Linked DNA regions of Homo sapiens: regions 1, 2 and 3 are each linked to region 4. Evidence: promoter capture Hi-C in 16 types of primary human blood cells and fetal thymus (Javierre and others, 2016). All regions are on one chromosome and are shown on one strand. The core of a region is centred on a gene start or on the middle of the fragment in contact, and the rest is flanking DNA. Distances in the headings are between cores, read along the strand shown.

Region 1 (3,327 bases), core at 741-3,240, 150 kb before region 4:
TTAACTTACAGCTTGTGTTGTAGGTCGAGATTGGCTGCATTATTATGTTACATGGTTTCTTGAGCCATGGTGAGCATATTTTCCAAACCAAAAATCAGCATAGCTATTCGGACAGTATTTTTTAAGTCAAATGTAATTACACATTTAGAAGTAAAATTAAAAGTTGAGACTGTCCAGGAAAACCCAGAACATAGGGATGCCTTGCCTGGAAGACGGGAGGTTGACTCCTCAAAGGAGAAGTATGCTGAACTTTAAACTTGACCCCCCTTGCCTTTCAGCACAGTGTTGATATCAGCCCTCCTAGAGGTGCAGCTGGGCCCCGCCTTTCTACCCAAAGTAGGATGCTACACCATAGGCCATAGGCAAGACCACTGATCTGTATGGAGACTTGATTTTTAGTATGAAGGATATTTTTTGCCTGGCCTTGAAGCCTGTAGGGCAGACATGGAAAAGGAAATGACAGTACTGACCCAGGACTGTCCCGTCTGACTTATTACCCAATTTGTGTAGATCATGCAGTCTAGGAACTAGCAAGCATTCGATTGCGGCAAAAGCATCTCCGAATGAATAACTTCATTGAATTCTTGGGTTTTTCTGAGTTCCTTCATTTTGTACAAATGACTTCCTGTAGGTATGGGAATTATTGGTCAAGACAGGCTCTTTTGCTTGTTTTCCTGAGGCCACGCTTTCAGCTCATGCCGTAGCAGAATAGGAGAAGGAAGAGAGCGAAAAATAATAGTAAAATTCTGAAAACAAATACAAGGAAACCTGGGACCCAAAGAGGAAACAGACGTTGAGAAATTCAAAAAGAAACCAGACAAGGAGAGAACATGTTCATGTGTTCAGAGTTGTTTTCTACAGTGTATTTATGGAGGGTGCAAGTGCCTTTTGACAGTTCTATTGTGTATTGTAAAAAAACTTTTTTTAATTCTTTGAGTTTTTTACATGTTTATCCCTTCCTAAGTTGATTTGTGTGTCTTTTTGGTTTTGTTTTTCTTTTTGAGACATAGTCTTGCTCTGTTGCCCAGGCTGGAGTGCAGTGGCATGATCTCAGCTCACAGCAACCTCCGCCTCCCAGGTTCAAGCGATTCTCATGCCTCAGCCTCCTGAGTAGCTGGGATTACAGGCGTGCGGCACCACACTTGGCTAATTATTGTATTTTTAGTGTACGTGGGGATTCACTATGTTGTCTAGGATGGTCTTGAACTCCTGACTTCAAGTGATCCACCTGCCTCGGCCTCCCAGAGTGCTGGGATTACAGGTGTGAGCCACCGCGCCCGGCTTTAAATTTAAACAATATCTGACTTGCCTGGGTGTGGTTACTCATGCCTGTAATCACAGCACTTTGGGAGACTGTGGCGGGTGGATCACTTGAGGCCAGAAGATCGAGAGCAGCCTGGCCAACATGGCAAAACCCCATCGCTACTAAAAAATACAAAAATTAGCCGAGTGTGGTGGTGCGTGCCTGTATTCCCAGCTACTACAGAGGCTGAGGCAGGAGAATCACTTGAACCCAGGAGGTGGAGGTTGTAGTAAGCCAAGATCACGCCACTACACTCCAGCCTGGGCCATAGAGTAAGACCCTGCCTCAGAAAAAAAGAAAAGAAAATTGGTGAATGGGTGGAATGTTTGAAAGAATAGCCAAAAATGTATCTTAACATTGGATGATGTTTCTAGAGATGGTGTGGAAGATCAACTGCTGTTTCTTACTATTTCTTTTTAAAAAAGAATTCTTATGTGAATCTTTTTAACATCTTACCTGTAATATTTTTATGGTTTGTTTAATGGTCAGTTGTTAAATTTGTCTATTGAAAATTAACGTTGCTTAAATATTACATATAAATTAAGGTAGCTTGTTCTTTTAAGCACATCAAACATCTTAAGAGATAAAATATAAATACAATTATTAATAAGACTTATTCTGTGTGGTTTGGGGTAAACTAGTGGCAAATTTCCAGTTATCTTGATTTTCAACAATTTCTACTAGAAGGGATTTTATTCAGCCACAGGAAAGTTATTGTTATGTATGCTCTGTTTTTGTCTTTAACTTATGCTCCCATTGGGGGTTAATGCGATATAAGAAGAGGGGTAGTATTCCTTTCCATGTACAAAAACCTGTTTTGGACCCTCTGGTGCTAAATTATTTTTACAAAATTAGTTTTGTTTCGGTTTCCTTCAGTTAACCATAGTTATTTTCTTTTTGAAGCTCAGATTGTCATAGATTGGCTAATGGCATTGTCTTTGAGCTGATTCCTTTGTCCTTTTGACACTAACTCTGGCAGTCTGAAAAGTATTCTTACTTTCTGGCAGTGCTAGAAAATACCAGAATGGTCTTTATTGTTTTTTTGCCCCAAGACATGGAGTCATCTCCCATCTAGGTTCCTGGTTCCTTTAGTGGAAAGTAATATTAGAAACCAAAATCTGGGCTGGGCGCAGTGGCTCATGCCTGTAATCCCAGCACTTTTTGGGAGGCCAGGATGGGAGGATTGCTTGAGGCCAGAAGTTCAAGACAGGCTGCCCAACATAGTGAGACCCCCTTCTCTACCAAAATTTTAAAAATGAGCATGCATCTGTAGTCCTAGCTATTGGGAAGGCTGAGGCAGGAGGATCATCTGAGCCCAGGAGTTTGAGGCTGCAGTGAGCTAAGAAGGTGCCACTGCACTGCTGTTGTCTCTCAGCAGATCATTTTCAGCTTTCTTTGGAGAGTAGCCATTAGCAATGCAAATGTGAAGTTTGATAGCACAATAAATAAAACACTGAAAACTGTAGATGTTACTTATAAAACACTGGCACTCAGATAAATTGGGTTTGGTCAAGAAGACAGTGAAGCATATCCCTGTTGGGCCAGAGGCTGTTATCGTTTTGCTCTGAATTCAAAACCTGATATGTCTCCAAATTTGCTTAGGGTTGTTATCCTGGAAAATAGAATCTGATAGAAGGTGGGCACTGGTACCAAGTGCAAGGTGGAGGTGATCATGGTTAGGGCAATTGCATACAGGTCATGACTGCATTGGAGTCTCAGGAAAGATTGGTTTAGTGATTTGGCAAATCCAAGGCATGAGTTTTGGGTGGTTTTGTTGTTTTGTCTTATTTTTCCACCCCTTAAGAGTCTTAGGGGAAAACAGCATCATTGAATAGACTAGCTAAAAATTCAGCACTTAATACCCTTCACAGCGTATTAGCCTCTGCAGAGCTTTGCTATTTTGGAACCAGTGGTGTGAATTATTCTCTGTTAATAAGAATCTGGCTTTCTTTTCCTGTTGGAAAAGAGGCTCGTGTGCATGTTACTCTGACTCAGTAGTTCTCAAACTTTTTGTTCTCAGGACC
Region 2 (3,564 bases), core at 946-3,445, 230 kb before region 4:
AGTGCTGGGATTACAGGCATGAGCCACCACACCCGGCCTCTGCTTTGTTTTTTAAAAAAAAAGAAATGCAAGAGAGGGAGGGAGGCAGCCTCCTGACCATAAAAGCTGATTTCTTGATTTTTTTTTCTTTTTTTTTTGAAATGGAGTCTTGCTCTGTCTCCAAGGCTGGAGTGCAGTGGCATGGTCTCAGCTCACTGCAGCCTCCGTTTCCTGGGTTCAAGTGATTGTCCTGCCTTGGCCGCTGAGTAGCTAGGATTACTGGCACCCGCCACAAGGCCCAGCTAATTTTTGTATTTTTAGTAGAGACAGGGTTTGATTATGTTGGACAGGCTGGTCTCAAACTCCTGACTTCAAGTGATCCACCCGCCTCGGCCTCCCAACGTGATGGGACTATAGACATGAGCCATCATGCTTGGCCTTCTTGATTCTTGAATACGGGGTTTTGAGGTGAAAGCATTTCATGAAAACTTAAGTTCATACACAAGAGCATCATGAATATTCTAAAAGAGGTATCTGTGCTTTTTTTGTGACCACAAAATATTACTTCTTATGAAATGTTTACACTAGGTGAGGAAAAGTTCATTAATTACCTTTAAACCGTTCCTTATTTTTTTTAAGATTTTAAATTGTATTTTGGCTTTTGCCTCCAGTATCCTTTCTGGTTGCTCTGGTTTGAATTAAGTTCCTATTATGCTGCAGCACATATCAACCTTCCCTAAGTAACCATTTCCTGGAATGTGAAGCATCGGTGCCATTAGCAGACCATATGCAGAAATGTCGTGTACTTGCATTTCTTTTTTGTGCACTCTATAAGGCTGGTTGTGACTCAGATCAGCTTAACTTTTTATATTATGTTATTTCACTAACTGCTACAGTCAAAATGATCAAATCTTTGTACAATAGAAAATTATTTAAATTTTATTTTTCTACTGACATTTCTAATTCTAGTGTAAATGTTTATCAATAAAAAATTACTTTCAATTCTGAGTTGGAATTATATTTCTTTTTGGTGGCTAATGAGTTTAATCTTTTGTAATAAAATTGACTTCAGTTTTCATTTTTTAAATAACTTAATATCTAGCATGTGTAACTTTTTTTATGTTCTACTTCTTACTAATTTATGATAAAATTCTTGTTCAAAGTTGTGATTAAACCGTACTTAACATGTGAACTTGAAATTCTTATTAACTCTACTTGCTGGGCCATATATTCCCATCAAGAAACTTTTGTTTGATTCTGTGCAGGAATAGGTGAGTATTGATACAGTGTGTGAAAATGTATTATTTTAATAGTAAGTCCACATGAAGAGAAGCTTCGTCGTGTTTGGTTAATTTAATACCCTTGGTGACATCATAAATCTCACTGTTCTGCCATTTTTAACAAATGGGACTAAGTTGGGTAGTTTACCTCATGGTCACAAGATTGCTGCAGTTCCAGCCATTGCAGACACATACAGAGAATGTCTGGCAGGAGATTGCCCATTCATTCCTTCTAATTTTCTAAAGTTGAGGTTTAACATGCAGTAAAGTGTACAAATCTTAAAATGTATAGCTTAATGAATTTTACATATATATATATATATATATATATATACTTAATGTGACTAATAGATCAAGAGACAGAATGTTTCTAGCACCCCGGAAAGATACGTACACAGTTCAGACAGAAGACCCCAAGACTGTATATGTATCTGGGAGTAAAGGTGCTGAGATCGGCAGGGAGGACACCCTAAATTATTACCGAGAAAACAGAACAGTGAACCAGGAATCTTTAGGGAGTTGGAGGGATTTGTGCTGTGGCCAAGTGGAGAGCCCTGTCCGAAGGAGTCAGCTATTGCTTGGCTCCAGCCTGTTTCTGCTTTATTCGATGATTAACCCAATCTTGCCAGATACTTATTTTCAAGAGAAGCTGGAAATCTAGGTTACTGTTTGAAATCTCTCCATTTTTAAGTGTTAGCAACTAATTTAAACTTGCGTAAAACACTTTTATTATTTATTTATTTATTTAGAGACACAGTCTCGCTCTGTTGCTCAGGCTGGAGTATAGTGGCGCGATCTTGGCTCACTGCAATCTTCACCTCCCAAGTTCAAGTGATTCTCCTGCCTCAGCCTCCCAAGTAGCTGGGATTACAGATGTGCGCCCCCAAACCTGGCTAATTTTTGTATTTTTAGTAGAGACGAGGTTTCACGGTGTTGGCCAGGATGGTCTCGAACTCCTGACCTCAAATGGTCCGCCCACCTTGGCTTCCCAAAGTGCTGGAATTACAGCCGCGAGCCACCTGTAATTGTGCGCCTTGCCGTAAAACACTTTTAAGTCATTACAATACATGATTTTAAGCTGGATTTGGCCTGCTCACCACCAATTTTTTTTCCATCTCAACTATTAGAAAGTAATTCCCACTCTGATTACCCTTAAAGCGGTCAGGAACTCTAGTTGTAAATCTGAACAATCACATGGAGTGCTAGGAGAAATGGGTGCTGGGGAGTGTCTGCCAGAGAACGCAGTGGCTCCTGTTCCCCAGACTCACCCCCAGTGATAGGGCAAAAGGGTACATCCTGATTTGTGGCTGTAGGACACCATTTATGCTGTCCAAGGTAAATGACGCCAAGAATGGTCAACTTCCAAATACTGGGTTCAAATTTTACATCTATTTTTCTATTACTCTCCCATAAGAAAAGTGTGCTTAGGCCGGGTGCAGTGGCTCATGCCTGTAATCCCAGCACTTCGGGAGCCCGAGGCGGGCAGATCACCTGAGGTCAGGAGTTCCAGATCAGCCTGACCAACATGGAGAAACCCTGTCTATACTAAAAATACAAAATTAGCCACACGTGGTGGTGTATGCCTGTAATCCCAGCTACTTGGGAGGCTGAGGCAGGAGAATCGCTTGAACCCAGGAAGCAGAGGTTGCAGTGAGCCGAGATCACGCTATTGCGCTCCAGCCTGGGCAACAAGAGCGAAACTCCATCTCAAAAAAAAAAAAAAAATGTGCTTAAATGGATCATAAACCTAAACGCAAGAACTACAACTCTTAGAAAAAAATAAGCGTAAATTTTATGATCTTGGCTTAGGTAAAGCTTTCTTAGATACAATTCCAAAAGCACAAGGGAAAATAAACAAAAAATAGATAAATTGGACTTCATCAAAATTAAAAACGACTTTGAAGGACACCTTCAAGAAAGTATGAATAGCCAGACACGGTGGCTCATGCCTGTAATCCCAGCAATTTGGGAGGCCCGGGTGGGAGGACTGGTTTAGGTCATGAGTTTGAGATCAGCCTGGGTAACACAGCAAGACCCTATCTTTACAAAATATGTGTATTTTTAAAAGTTAGCTGGGTGTGGTTGTGTGCACCTGAAGTTCTAGTTACTCAGGAGGCTGAGGTGGGAGGATTGCTTGAACCCAGGAGTTGGAGGCTACAGTGGGGCTATGCACCACTGCACTCCAGCCTGGGCAATAGAGCAGGATGCTGTCTTTCAAAAAAAGTGGAAACCTCACAAAATATGAGGAAATATGTTCAAGTCACAAAGGACTGGACCAGCCTGGTGGTGGACCAACTGGACCAAC
Region 3 (3,372 bases), core at 873-3,372, 210 kb after region 4:
CTCACCCAAAAGAATCTTAAGATGTAACTTCATCACTCAACTTGCCAATTAGCAAATAGCGGCCCCCACATCCCTTTTGGCCAATTTTCTAGATGCCTGACCTAGCAGACAGACCTGTTTTCCTCCTGCCAGGCCTTTTTTGCCCTCCCGCTAGGAGCCTGGGAAATCCCCCTCCAACCTTTTGCTGGCCTGTCACCAGAAGTTCATAAAATGAATTCATCCAGATTCTCTGAATCCTCCTTTTCCCCAGTCATGTGCCAACAGCCAGGCAATAATGCCCCACCGTGACAGGCTCCCTGTTACAAAAAGATGCAGATTCACGGGAAGACCAAGCACTTAGCATGGAGCAGAAGAAAAAAAGATGGAGGGAGGCGAGAGTCGCGGAGCCAAGCCTGCTGCATGCAGTACGGGTGACCACAGCCCGGGTCCTGCAAAGCCCCCGCGAGACTCGCCGGCTGGGCCCTCCGTACAGCAGCCACACCTGTCTATGCCAGCCGCCTGCCGGCTGCTCCATTTTAAACATTTCAAACAGATCTCCAGCAGGGTGGCAAAACTGGGCACCTCTCTCTCCCAGCAAGAGTGAGAGCCCTAATCCAGGCATCACTTGCCCCTGATTTTATTTCATTTTCACACACTCTGTTTAGGAGACACTGCTTGCTCCAACTGGCTCCATCTCTCCGTTACCGGTGAGGCAGGCACAGTGCTGCAGTGGCAGAATGGAAGTACCCAGGCTGACTTGCTCTCAGCCAGACACGACCTCTTCTCTGAGGAGGGTGATGCCAATAAATGGAACTCCAATAGGTAGGCTTCGCTCTGCCCTTCCACAAGTGAACACACGCCGTGAGTCCCTAAATCGCCAGGCTCCGCAGCCTCGCAGAAAGCCTAGTTTCCAGACGGTAGGTATCCCATTTATCCCTTGGCATCGGGAACCAAAGGGAATGCAGACAGATCCCGGTCGTGCACTACATTCCCAAACCTTGGCACGCACGCGAAGGCTTGGGGCGCCCCGGCGCGCCCTCCCTCCGAGGCCTCCACCACCCGCGGACTCACCACTATGCGAGCTGAACCACCTGGGTGCGATGTGCAGAGGTAGAGCATCCGCCAGCGAGGCTCGGGAGCCCAGGTACAGCATCCCGTCTCTATGGTGACCGCCGCCCGTCTCCTGGTAACCATTGCCATGGGCATAGGTGGAGTCGGACGCAGACCCTCCGCCGCCGGGCGCCCTCTCGGAGTCGCCGGTGCCCCGGGAGGCGGGGGTGTAGAGGCCAAAGGGCACCCCCCCGGCCGTGCTGGGGTCCATGCCCATGCCTGCCACCGAGCTGACCGAGCGGCTGCGCAGCCCCATGGCCCCGCCGCCCGTCCGGTAGTGCCCGAAATGGGGCGCCCCTCCCGGCGGCGGCACGGCGCTGTCATCGGTGGAGACCCCCGGGAAGGGGCCCCGGGAGCGGGCCGCCGTGCTCTGCTTGCCCCCCATGCTCGCCCGGGCCCCGGTGGGGCGGGAACCTGGAGGCCGAGACCCTCCCCCACTTCTCAGCAGCAGGGGGAGGGCTGGGCGAGCATAAAGGGGGAGGGAGTCAAAAAGGAGACCCGGAGGGAGAAAAGGAAAAAAAGCAAAAGGAAAAAAGGAAAAAACCCGCGGGGCGGAAGAGGCAGGCGGGCGGGCGGGGATCCCAAACTCAGAATTTCAAACGATCCAAGGCAAACGCATGTTTCCCCTCAAGGTCCAAAGAGGCGCAGTCCGGCGCGGGCTCCGCGCGCCACAGGCCGCCCCCGGGCTCCGAAAGCCGGGGGAGCCGCAGGGAAGGAGGGAGGGAGGCGGCGGCGAGCGGCGGGCGGGCGCGGGGAGGCGCCGGAGGAGGCCGCCCGCCCCGCGGGAGGAGGCGGAGGAGGGCCGGGGGCGCCGGGCGCGTCCCCCGCCTCAGGACGCCGCGACCATGGACGGCGGCCCGGACCCCTCCAGGCCTCGGGCGGGCCGCGGCGCTGGGCGGCCAGGCGCAGCTCGGGAAGCCGCGGTCGCGTCGCGTCGCGCTCTCGCTTCAGCCGCCGCCGGCCCCGCCAGCCGCGCCGCCCCGCTCGGTCCCGGGCTGCGCTCGCCGGCGCTCCTCGCCGCCGTGGAGACAATGGAGGGCGGCAGAGCGCAGGCGCGGCCCGCGCCCCCTCCCCCTCCCCCCGCCGGGTTAACCCTTTCGCGGTCCCTGCGGCGCCTGGGCCGCTGACGCCCCAGCAGTCCCCACCCACCGCCCGCCCCCGGCCGGCCTGTGACCTGGGCGGCCTGACCACTGGGCGTTAGCCACAGAAACCAGATGTCTTTCAAAAGCAAACACTTCTTAAGTCCCCGAAAGTGGCAAATTATTCAGGGGGAACCAAGTATGGGGGAGGGGCAGCAATGGTTCGAGGGGGTGGGAAGGAAACACCGGGAAGAAGGAGATTTACTCCTTACGCCTACCTGGCTCTGAGGGTCACCGGTCGAGCTCCCCTCCTGGCACAAATTTGCCCCCACAGCACCCTCTGGTGGACGTGATGTCCATTCTTTCGGGGGTTCCCCATCCAAGCACCCCTCACGTCCGGAATCTCAACATTTGGCGGGGTTTAGTTATTTGGGGGTAAACAGCGCCATGGGGACACTTGTGAATCCGGCGTTTTGCTGACACTAGATCATAACTTCCTATTTTGGGCTTAAGCAAATGAGTAGATTCCTTAGCTAAAATGTAATTTTCAGAATCAATAGATGTACCATAAAAAGTGAATAGATATGGGTATGGAAATAGAACAACGCAGCTAGAAGTGATTATAGAAACCTTCTGTCCAAGGCTGGAGCCCTGTTTTGTTTACCATGTGCTGTGTTTCGGCCCTCACCACGGGCCAAGGACACGGTGGGTACTCAATAGGTGTATTGTTGACCAAGCCTGAATCATTTGCAAGGGAGTGTTCCTTTGCTACCTCAAGCCGTCTTTCTCCTATATTCACATTCATTTATTGAACAACTGTTTTTTTTGTTTTGTTTTGTTTTTGTTTTTGAGACGTAATCTCGCCCTGTCACCCAGGCTGGAGTGGTGTGGCGTAACCTCGGCTCACCGCAACCTCCGCCTCCCGGATTCAAGTGATTCTCCTGCCTCAGCCTCCCGAGTAGCTGGGATTACAGGCACATGCCACACTGCACCTGGCTAATTTTTTGTATTTTTAGTAGAGGCGGGGTTTCACCGTATTGGCCAGGCTGGTCTTGAACTCCTGACCTCAGGTAATCCACCTGCCTTGGCCTCCCAAAGTGTTAGGATTACAGGCATGAGCCACCGCGCCCGCCCTGTTTTTCTTTTTCTTTTTTTTCTTTTCTTTTTTTTTTTTTTTGAGACGGAGCCTTGCTCCTCCCAGGCT
Region 4 (3,411 bases), core at 352-2,851:
AAACTCTCCAGCCTCCTCCCGGCTGTCAGCTGCCACACGCAGGAATTTGTTGGTTTTGTTCAGCTGTTCCCGTGGGCCTGGTGGGCACTGGCTGGCAGGAAGAGCCCATGTGCATGCAGAGGTGGGTGCGTCTCATCCCGACCAGGCCATGCTCCGTCCTGCTGGTGCCCGCCAACCCCTCTGTCCTCAGACAATCTTCTAGAATGAGCGAAGGGCCTGAACAGGTGATTCACTCAAGAAAGAGGAATGTAGGGGCCCCGCCAGCGTGGATTGCATGCTTGGCCTGGTCCTGGTGCTCAAGAAGGCTCTTCCTTTTGTCATGGGACCCATACTCTAAGCATCCTCAATTACATACAGGATCAGAGAGGGCAAGTCATTTGCCCACGGCTCCACAGCTGCCTGACCCCACAACCCGTGCTGTAAACACACATGCTGCAGGCATCAGTGTGGTGGAATTGAAAACAGCCACGAGGCACCTTTTCCTGTGCATTTTGGGGAACTTGCCCTCCATCTGGCAGCCTCAATCCAAAATTTCTCCCTCCCCCGTTTCCCAGTTGCTGAGAAAGGGCTCCACCACCCATGCTGCCACCCGCACGAGGAACCAGGTGTCCCCGCCCATGCTCTGCCCTGAGGCTCAGCCTCCATCAGTTCTCATCAGGGCGATGCCAGGCCCCCAGGCCGGGCCCTAGGCCCAGTCTTGCCCTCTGATGCCACCTGCTCAGCTCCAGGGCCCAGGTGTGCTGGCGCCTGTGTGCAGGGGTGGCCCAGTGTGAGGACAGCAGGTAGCTACCCCTCCCCTGTACACAGCCCAAGTGACCAACACAGATGTCGACTGGGCCTTCACTGAGCCTTCTTAGCCATCCCCTGGGACCCGGCGAGCACCCGCACCCCAGCCTCTGGCTACACCATGGGGCACAGGCCTGCTCCCCCAGCCTCTCCTCTACTTGGTCACATTGCCCATTGGGTTTTTTTCTTTTTTTTTGTTTTTTTTCCTTTTTTGAGACAGTCTCACTGTCACAAGGCTGGAGTGTAGTGGCGCAATCTCGTCTCACTGCAACCTCCGCCTCCCGGGTTCACACCATTCTCCTGCCTCAGCCTCCCAAGTAGCTGGGAATACAGGTGTGCGCCACCACGCCTGGCTAATTTTTTGTATTTTTAGTAGAGACGGAGTTTCACCATGTTGGCCAGGATGGTCTTGATCTCTTGACCTCGTGATCCATCCGCCTCAGCCTCCCAAAGTGCTGGGATTACAGGCGTGAGCCACCATGCCCGGCCTGCCCAGGGGTTTTCAAACCATGAAAAGATCAAGTGAATTCTTTGCAGAGCACAAGAGACTCAGCTGGGGCTCAAACCCGGGGATGCTGGACTCAGCCCCTGGAGGCCCCTGCCCAAGCCTGGGCCTGGAGGAGAAAGGCAATGGTCGAAGGCCACCTGGGTTAGCCCGGCTCAGCTAAGGCCACAGCTGCTGCCATCCCAGGCTTCCTGGCCAGCCCTGCACCGACACATCTTGCCCACTCCCAGGGAAGGGATTATCGCCCCAAGGTCTCCAGATAACAGCAGGCACACAGGGCTATAACGGGGACCGGCAGACAGGCGTCCTACACCCCTGCCAGCGGCACCATGGCTTTCCTCTGGCTCCTCTCCTGCTGGGCCCTCCTGGGTACCACCTTCGGTGAGTGCCAGGCCCTGCGGAGGCCGAAGGGTTTTCTCCTCTCACTCCCAGCCCCGAGGCCAGCAAGAGGCAGCAGGGTCCCAGCTCCCAGTTCAGCTGTGCACCGCAGTGTGGGCCTGGGCGAGTCACCGGCTCCATCTCTGCCGTGGGCGCTGAGAGGTCAATGCCTCCCTCCCAGGCTCAGCTGCCGCCTCTGAGCTCAGGAGATGGGGAGTCCCGCTCCCCTTCCTCACCCCCAGCAGACCTGAGGCTCTCAGGGGAGGAGGCGGGGGGAGGAGGCAGGTGTCCGGGGGCTGCCCTGAGGCCTTCGGGAAACCCCCAAACAGTCAGCGGCCCCAGCACAGGTTTGGGTGGTGAATGTGTGGGCAGCTGGGGCTTGGCACCGTTCAGTCCAAACCTTTCAGAACCTCGAGCCTCACCCTCTTAAACTCCTGCTCACGGAGCACTTCCCGGGTGCCAGGCGCAGAGCTGGCGCTCTGCCTGCTCACTCTACCAAACCTGTGAGGTCAGAAACAGCGTGATCCCCACTTTGCTGATGGGGACACTGAGTGGCTTAGCTGGGCAGGGAGGGAGCCAGGTTCAAACCCACAGAGTCTGGCCTCCCAGACTGAGCGCCGGGGCTGCCGCCCACCGCACGCTCCACCTGTGTGACTTCTCCGAACTGAGGTGGGGCCAACACCCCATTCCTCAGCAGCCCACAGCCCAGTTCATTGGACTCAGTTGTACCTGGGGATTCCAGCTCTGCGGAGAGGAGAGCCAGGGCCAACTTCTCAGAGAAGGGGATGTGGGAGCCAGTCTAGGTCCCAGAGACTGGAAAAGAGTTGGGAGTGAGAGGAGGCTGGAGCATTAGGACCTGGGTGGGTGGTACCCACCCCTCAGCCCACTCCCGCCCCCAGGCTGCGGGGTCCCCGCCATCCACCCTGTGCTCAGCGGCCTGTCCAGGATCGTGAATGGGGAGGACGCCGTCCCCGGCTCCTGGCCCTGGCAGGTGTCCCTGCAGGTGAGGGGGTTCTGCAAGGTGGGGGGCACCCTGGGTAGGGGCCAGGCTGGGGGTGCCCCCGGGTGGGAGGTGCTGACCCTCCCCATCTTGCTCACAGGACAAAACCGGCTTCCACTTCTGCGGGGGCTCCCTCATCAGCGAGGACTGGGTGGTCACCGCTGCCCACTGCGGGGTCAGGTGAGGACCGGGCAGCCTTGGGCTCCGCTTCCAGCACCGGTCGGGTGGGAGGGGAGCAGGGCATGTTCTCTCACCCACAACGCTCTGCCCAGGACCTCCGACGTGGTCGTGGCTGGGGAGTTTGACCAGGGCTCTGACGAGGAGAACATCCAGGTCCTGAAGATCGCCAAGGTACCCAGGCCCCGTGCAGCAGAGGGCAGGGCCGTGGGCACGGGGGGAGACCCCTCGGCTGCTTCAGGGACAGGCGCCCAGTGGGGCCGGGCCGGCCTCGTGATTCCCATTCCGGCCCTGGGGATGGACTGCTCCTTAACGGGCACCAGGGAAGGAGTCTGTCCTCGAAGCCTGCAGGTCCTGCCTCCTCCCAGGGCCTCACCCCGGCACTCTGGCCCCCACCCCCAGGTCTTCAAGAACCCCAAGTTCAGCATTCTGACCGTGAACAATGACATCACCCTGCTGAAGCTGGCCACACCTGCCCGCTTCTCCCAGACAGTGTCCGCCGTGTGCCTGCCCAGCGCCGACGACGACTTCCCCGCGGGGACACTGTGTGCCACCACAGGCTGGG

The links. Contacts are between HindIII fragments. The CHiCAGO score rates a contact against its expected background, and 5 or more counts as called.
Region 1: a contact is called between a fragment that was not itself captured here and the fragment with the promoter of CTRB2 in region 4, in 3 of 17 cell types (naive CD8 T cells, fetal thymus and naive B cells). The highest score is 6.1, in naive CD8 T cells.
Region 2: a fragment that was not itself captured here is called in contact with the fragment with the promoter of CTRB2 in region 4 in 1 of 17 cell types (M1 macrophages); the score reaches 5.3 in M1 macrophages.
Region 3: a contact is called between the fragment with the promoter of ZNRF1 here and the fragment with the promoter of CTRB2 in region 4, in 2 of 17 cell types (M1 macrophages and M0 macrophages). The highest score is 5.2, in M1 macrophages.

What each region holds. Positions count from the first base shown.
Region 1 is chr16:75,359,291-75,362,617 of GRCh38, reverse strand. The region is part of intron 5 of CFDP1 (craniofacial development protein 1); the gene reads left to right. Among named protein-coding and RNA genes, the nearest start is that of CFDP1, 73 kb to the left of the region's middle. The HindIII fragment of the contact is 4,280 bases long and covers 1-3,327 here.
Region 2 is chr16:75,440,661-75,444,224 of GRCh38, reverse strand. TMEM170A (transmembrane protein 170A) reads left to right here. Exons shown (of 3, transcript NM_145254.3): 3 at 1-1,171. Among named protein-coding and RNA genes, the nearest start is that of CFDP1, 8.9 kb to the right of the region's middle. The HindIII fragment of the contact is 1,762 bases long and covers 1,315-3,076 here.
Region 3 is chr16:74,997,774-75,001,145 of GRCh38, reverse strand. It overlaps ZNRF1 (zinc and ring finger 1), which reads right to left and starts at 2,122. Exons shown (of 5, transcript NM_032268.5): 1 at 1,051-2,122. The coding sequence starts at 1,474. RefSeq lists an enhancer at 251-310 and silencers at 1,101-1,410, 1,811-2,330. The HindIII fragment of the contact is 6,289 bases long and covers 1-3,372 here.
Region 4 is chr16:75,205,351-75,208,761 of GRCh38, reverse strand. It overlaps CTRB2 (chymotrypsinogen B2), which reads left to right and starts at 1,601. Exons shown (of 7, transcript NM_001025200.4): 1 at 1,601-1,672; 2 at 2,569-2,672; 3 at 2,770-2,849; 4 at 2,942-3,020; 5 at 3,249-3,411. The coding sequence starts at 1,621. RefSeq lists an enhancer at 1-119 and a silencer at 1,792-2,011. The HindIII fragment of the contact is 10,617 bases long and covers 1-3,411 here.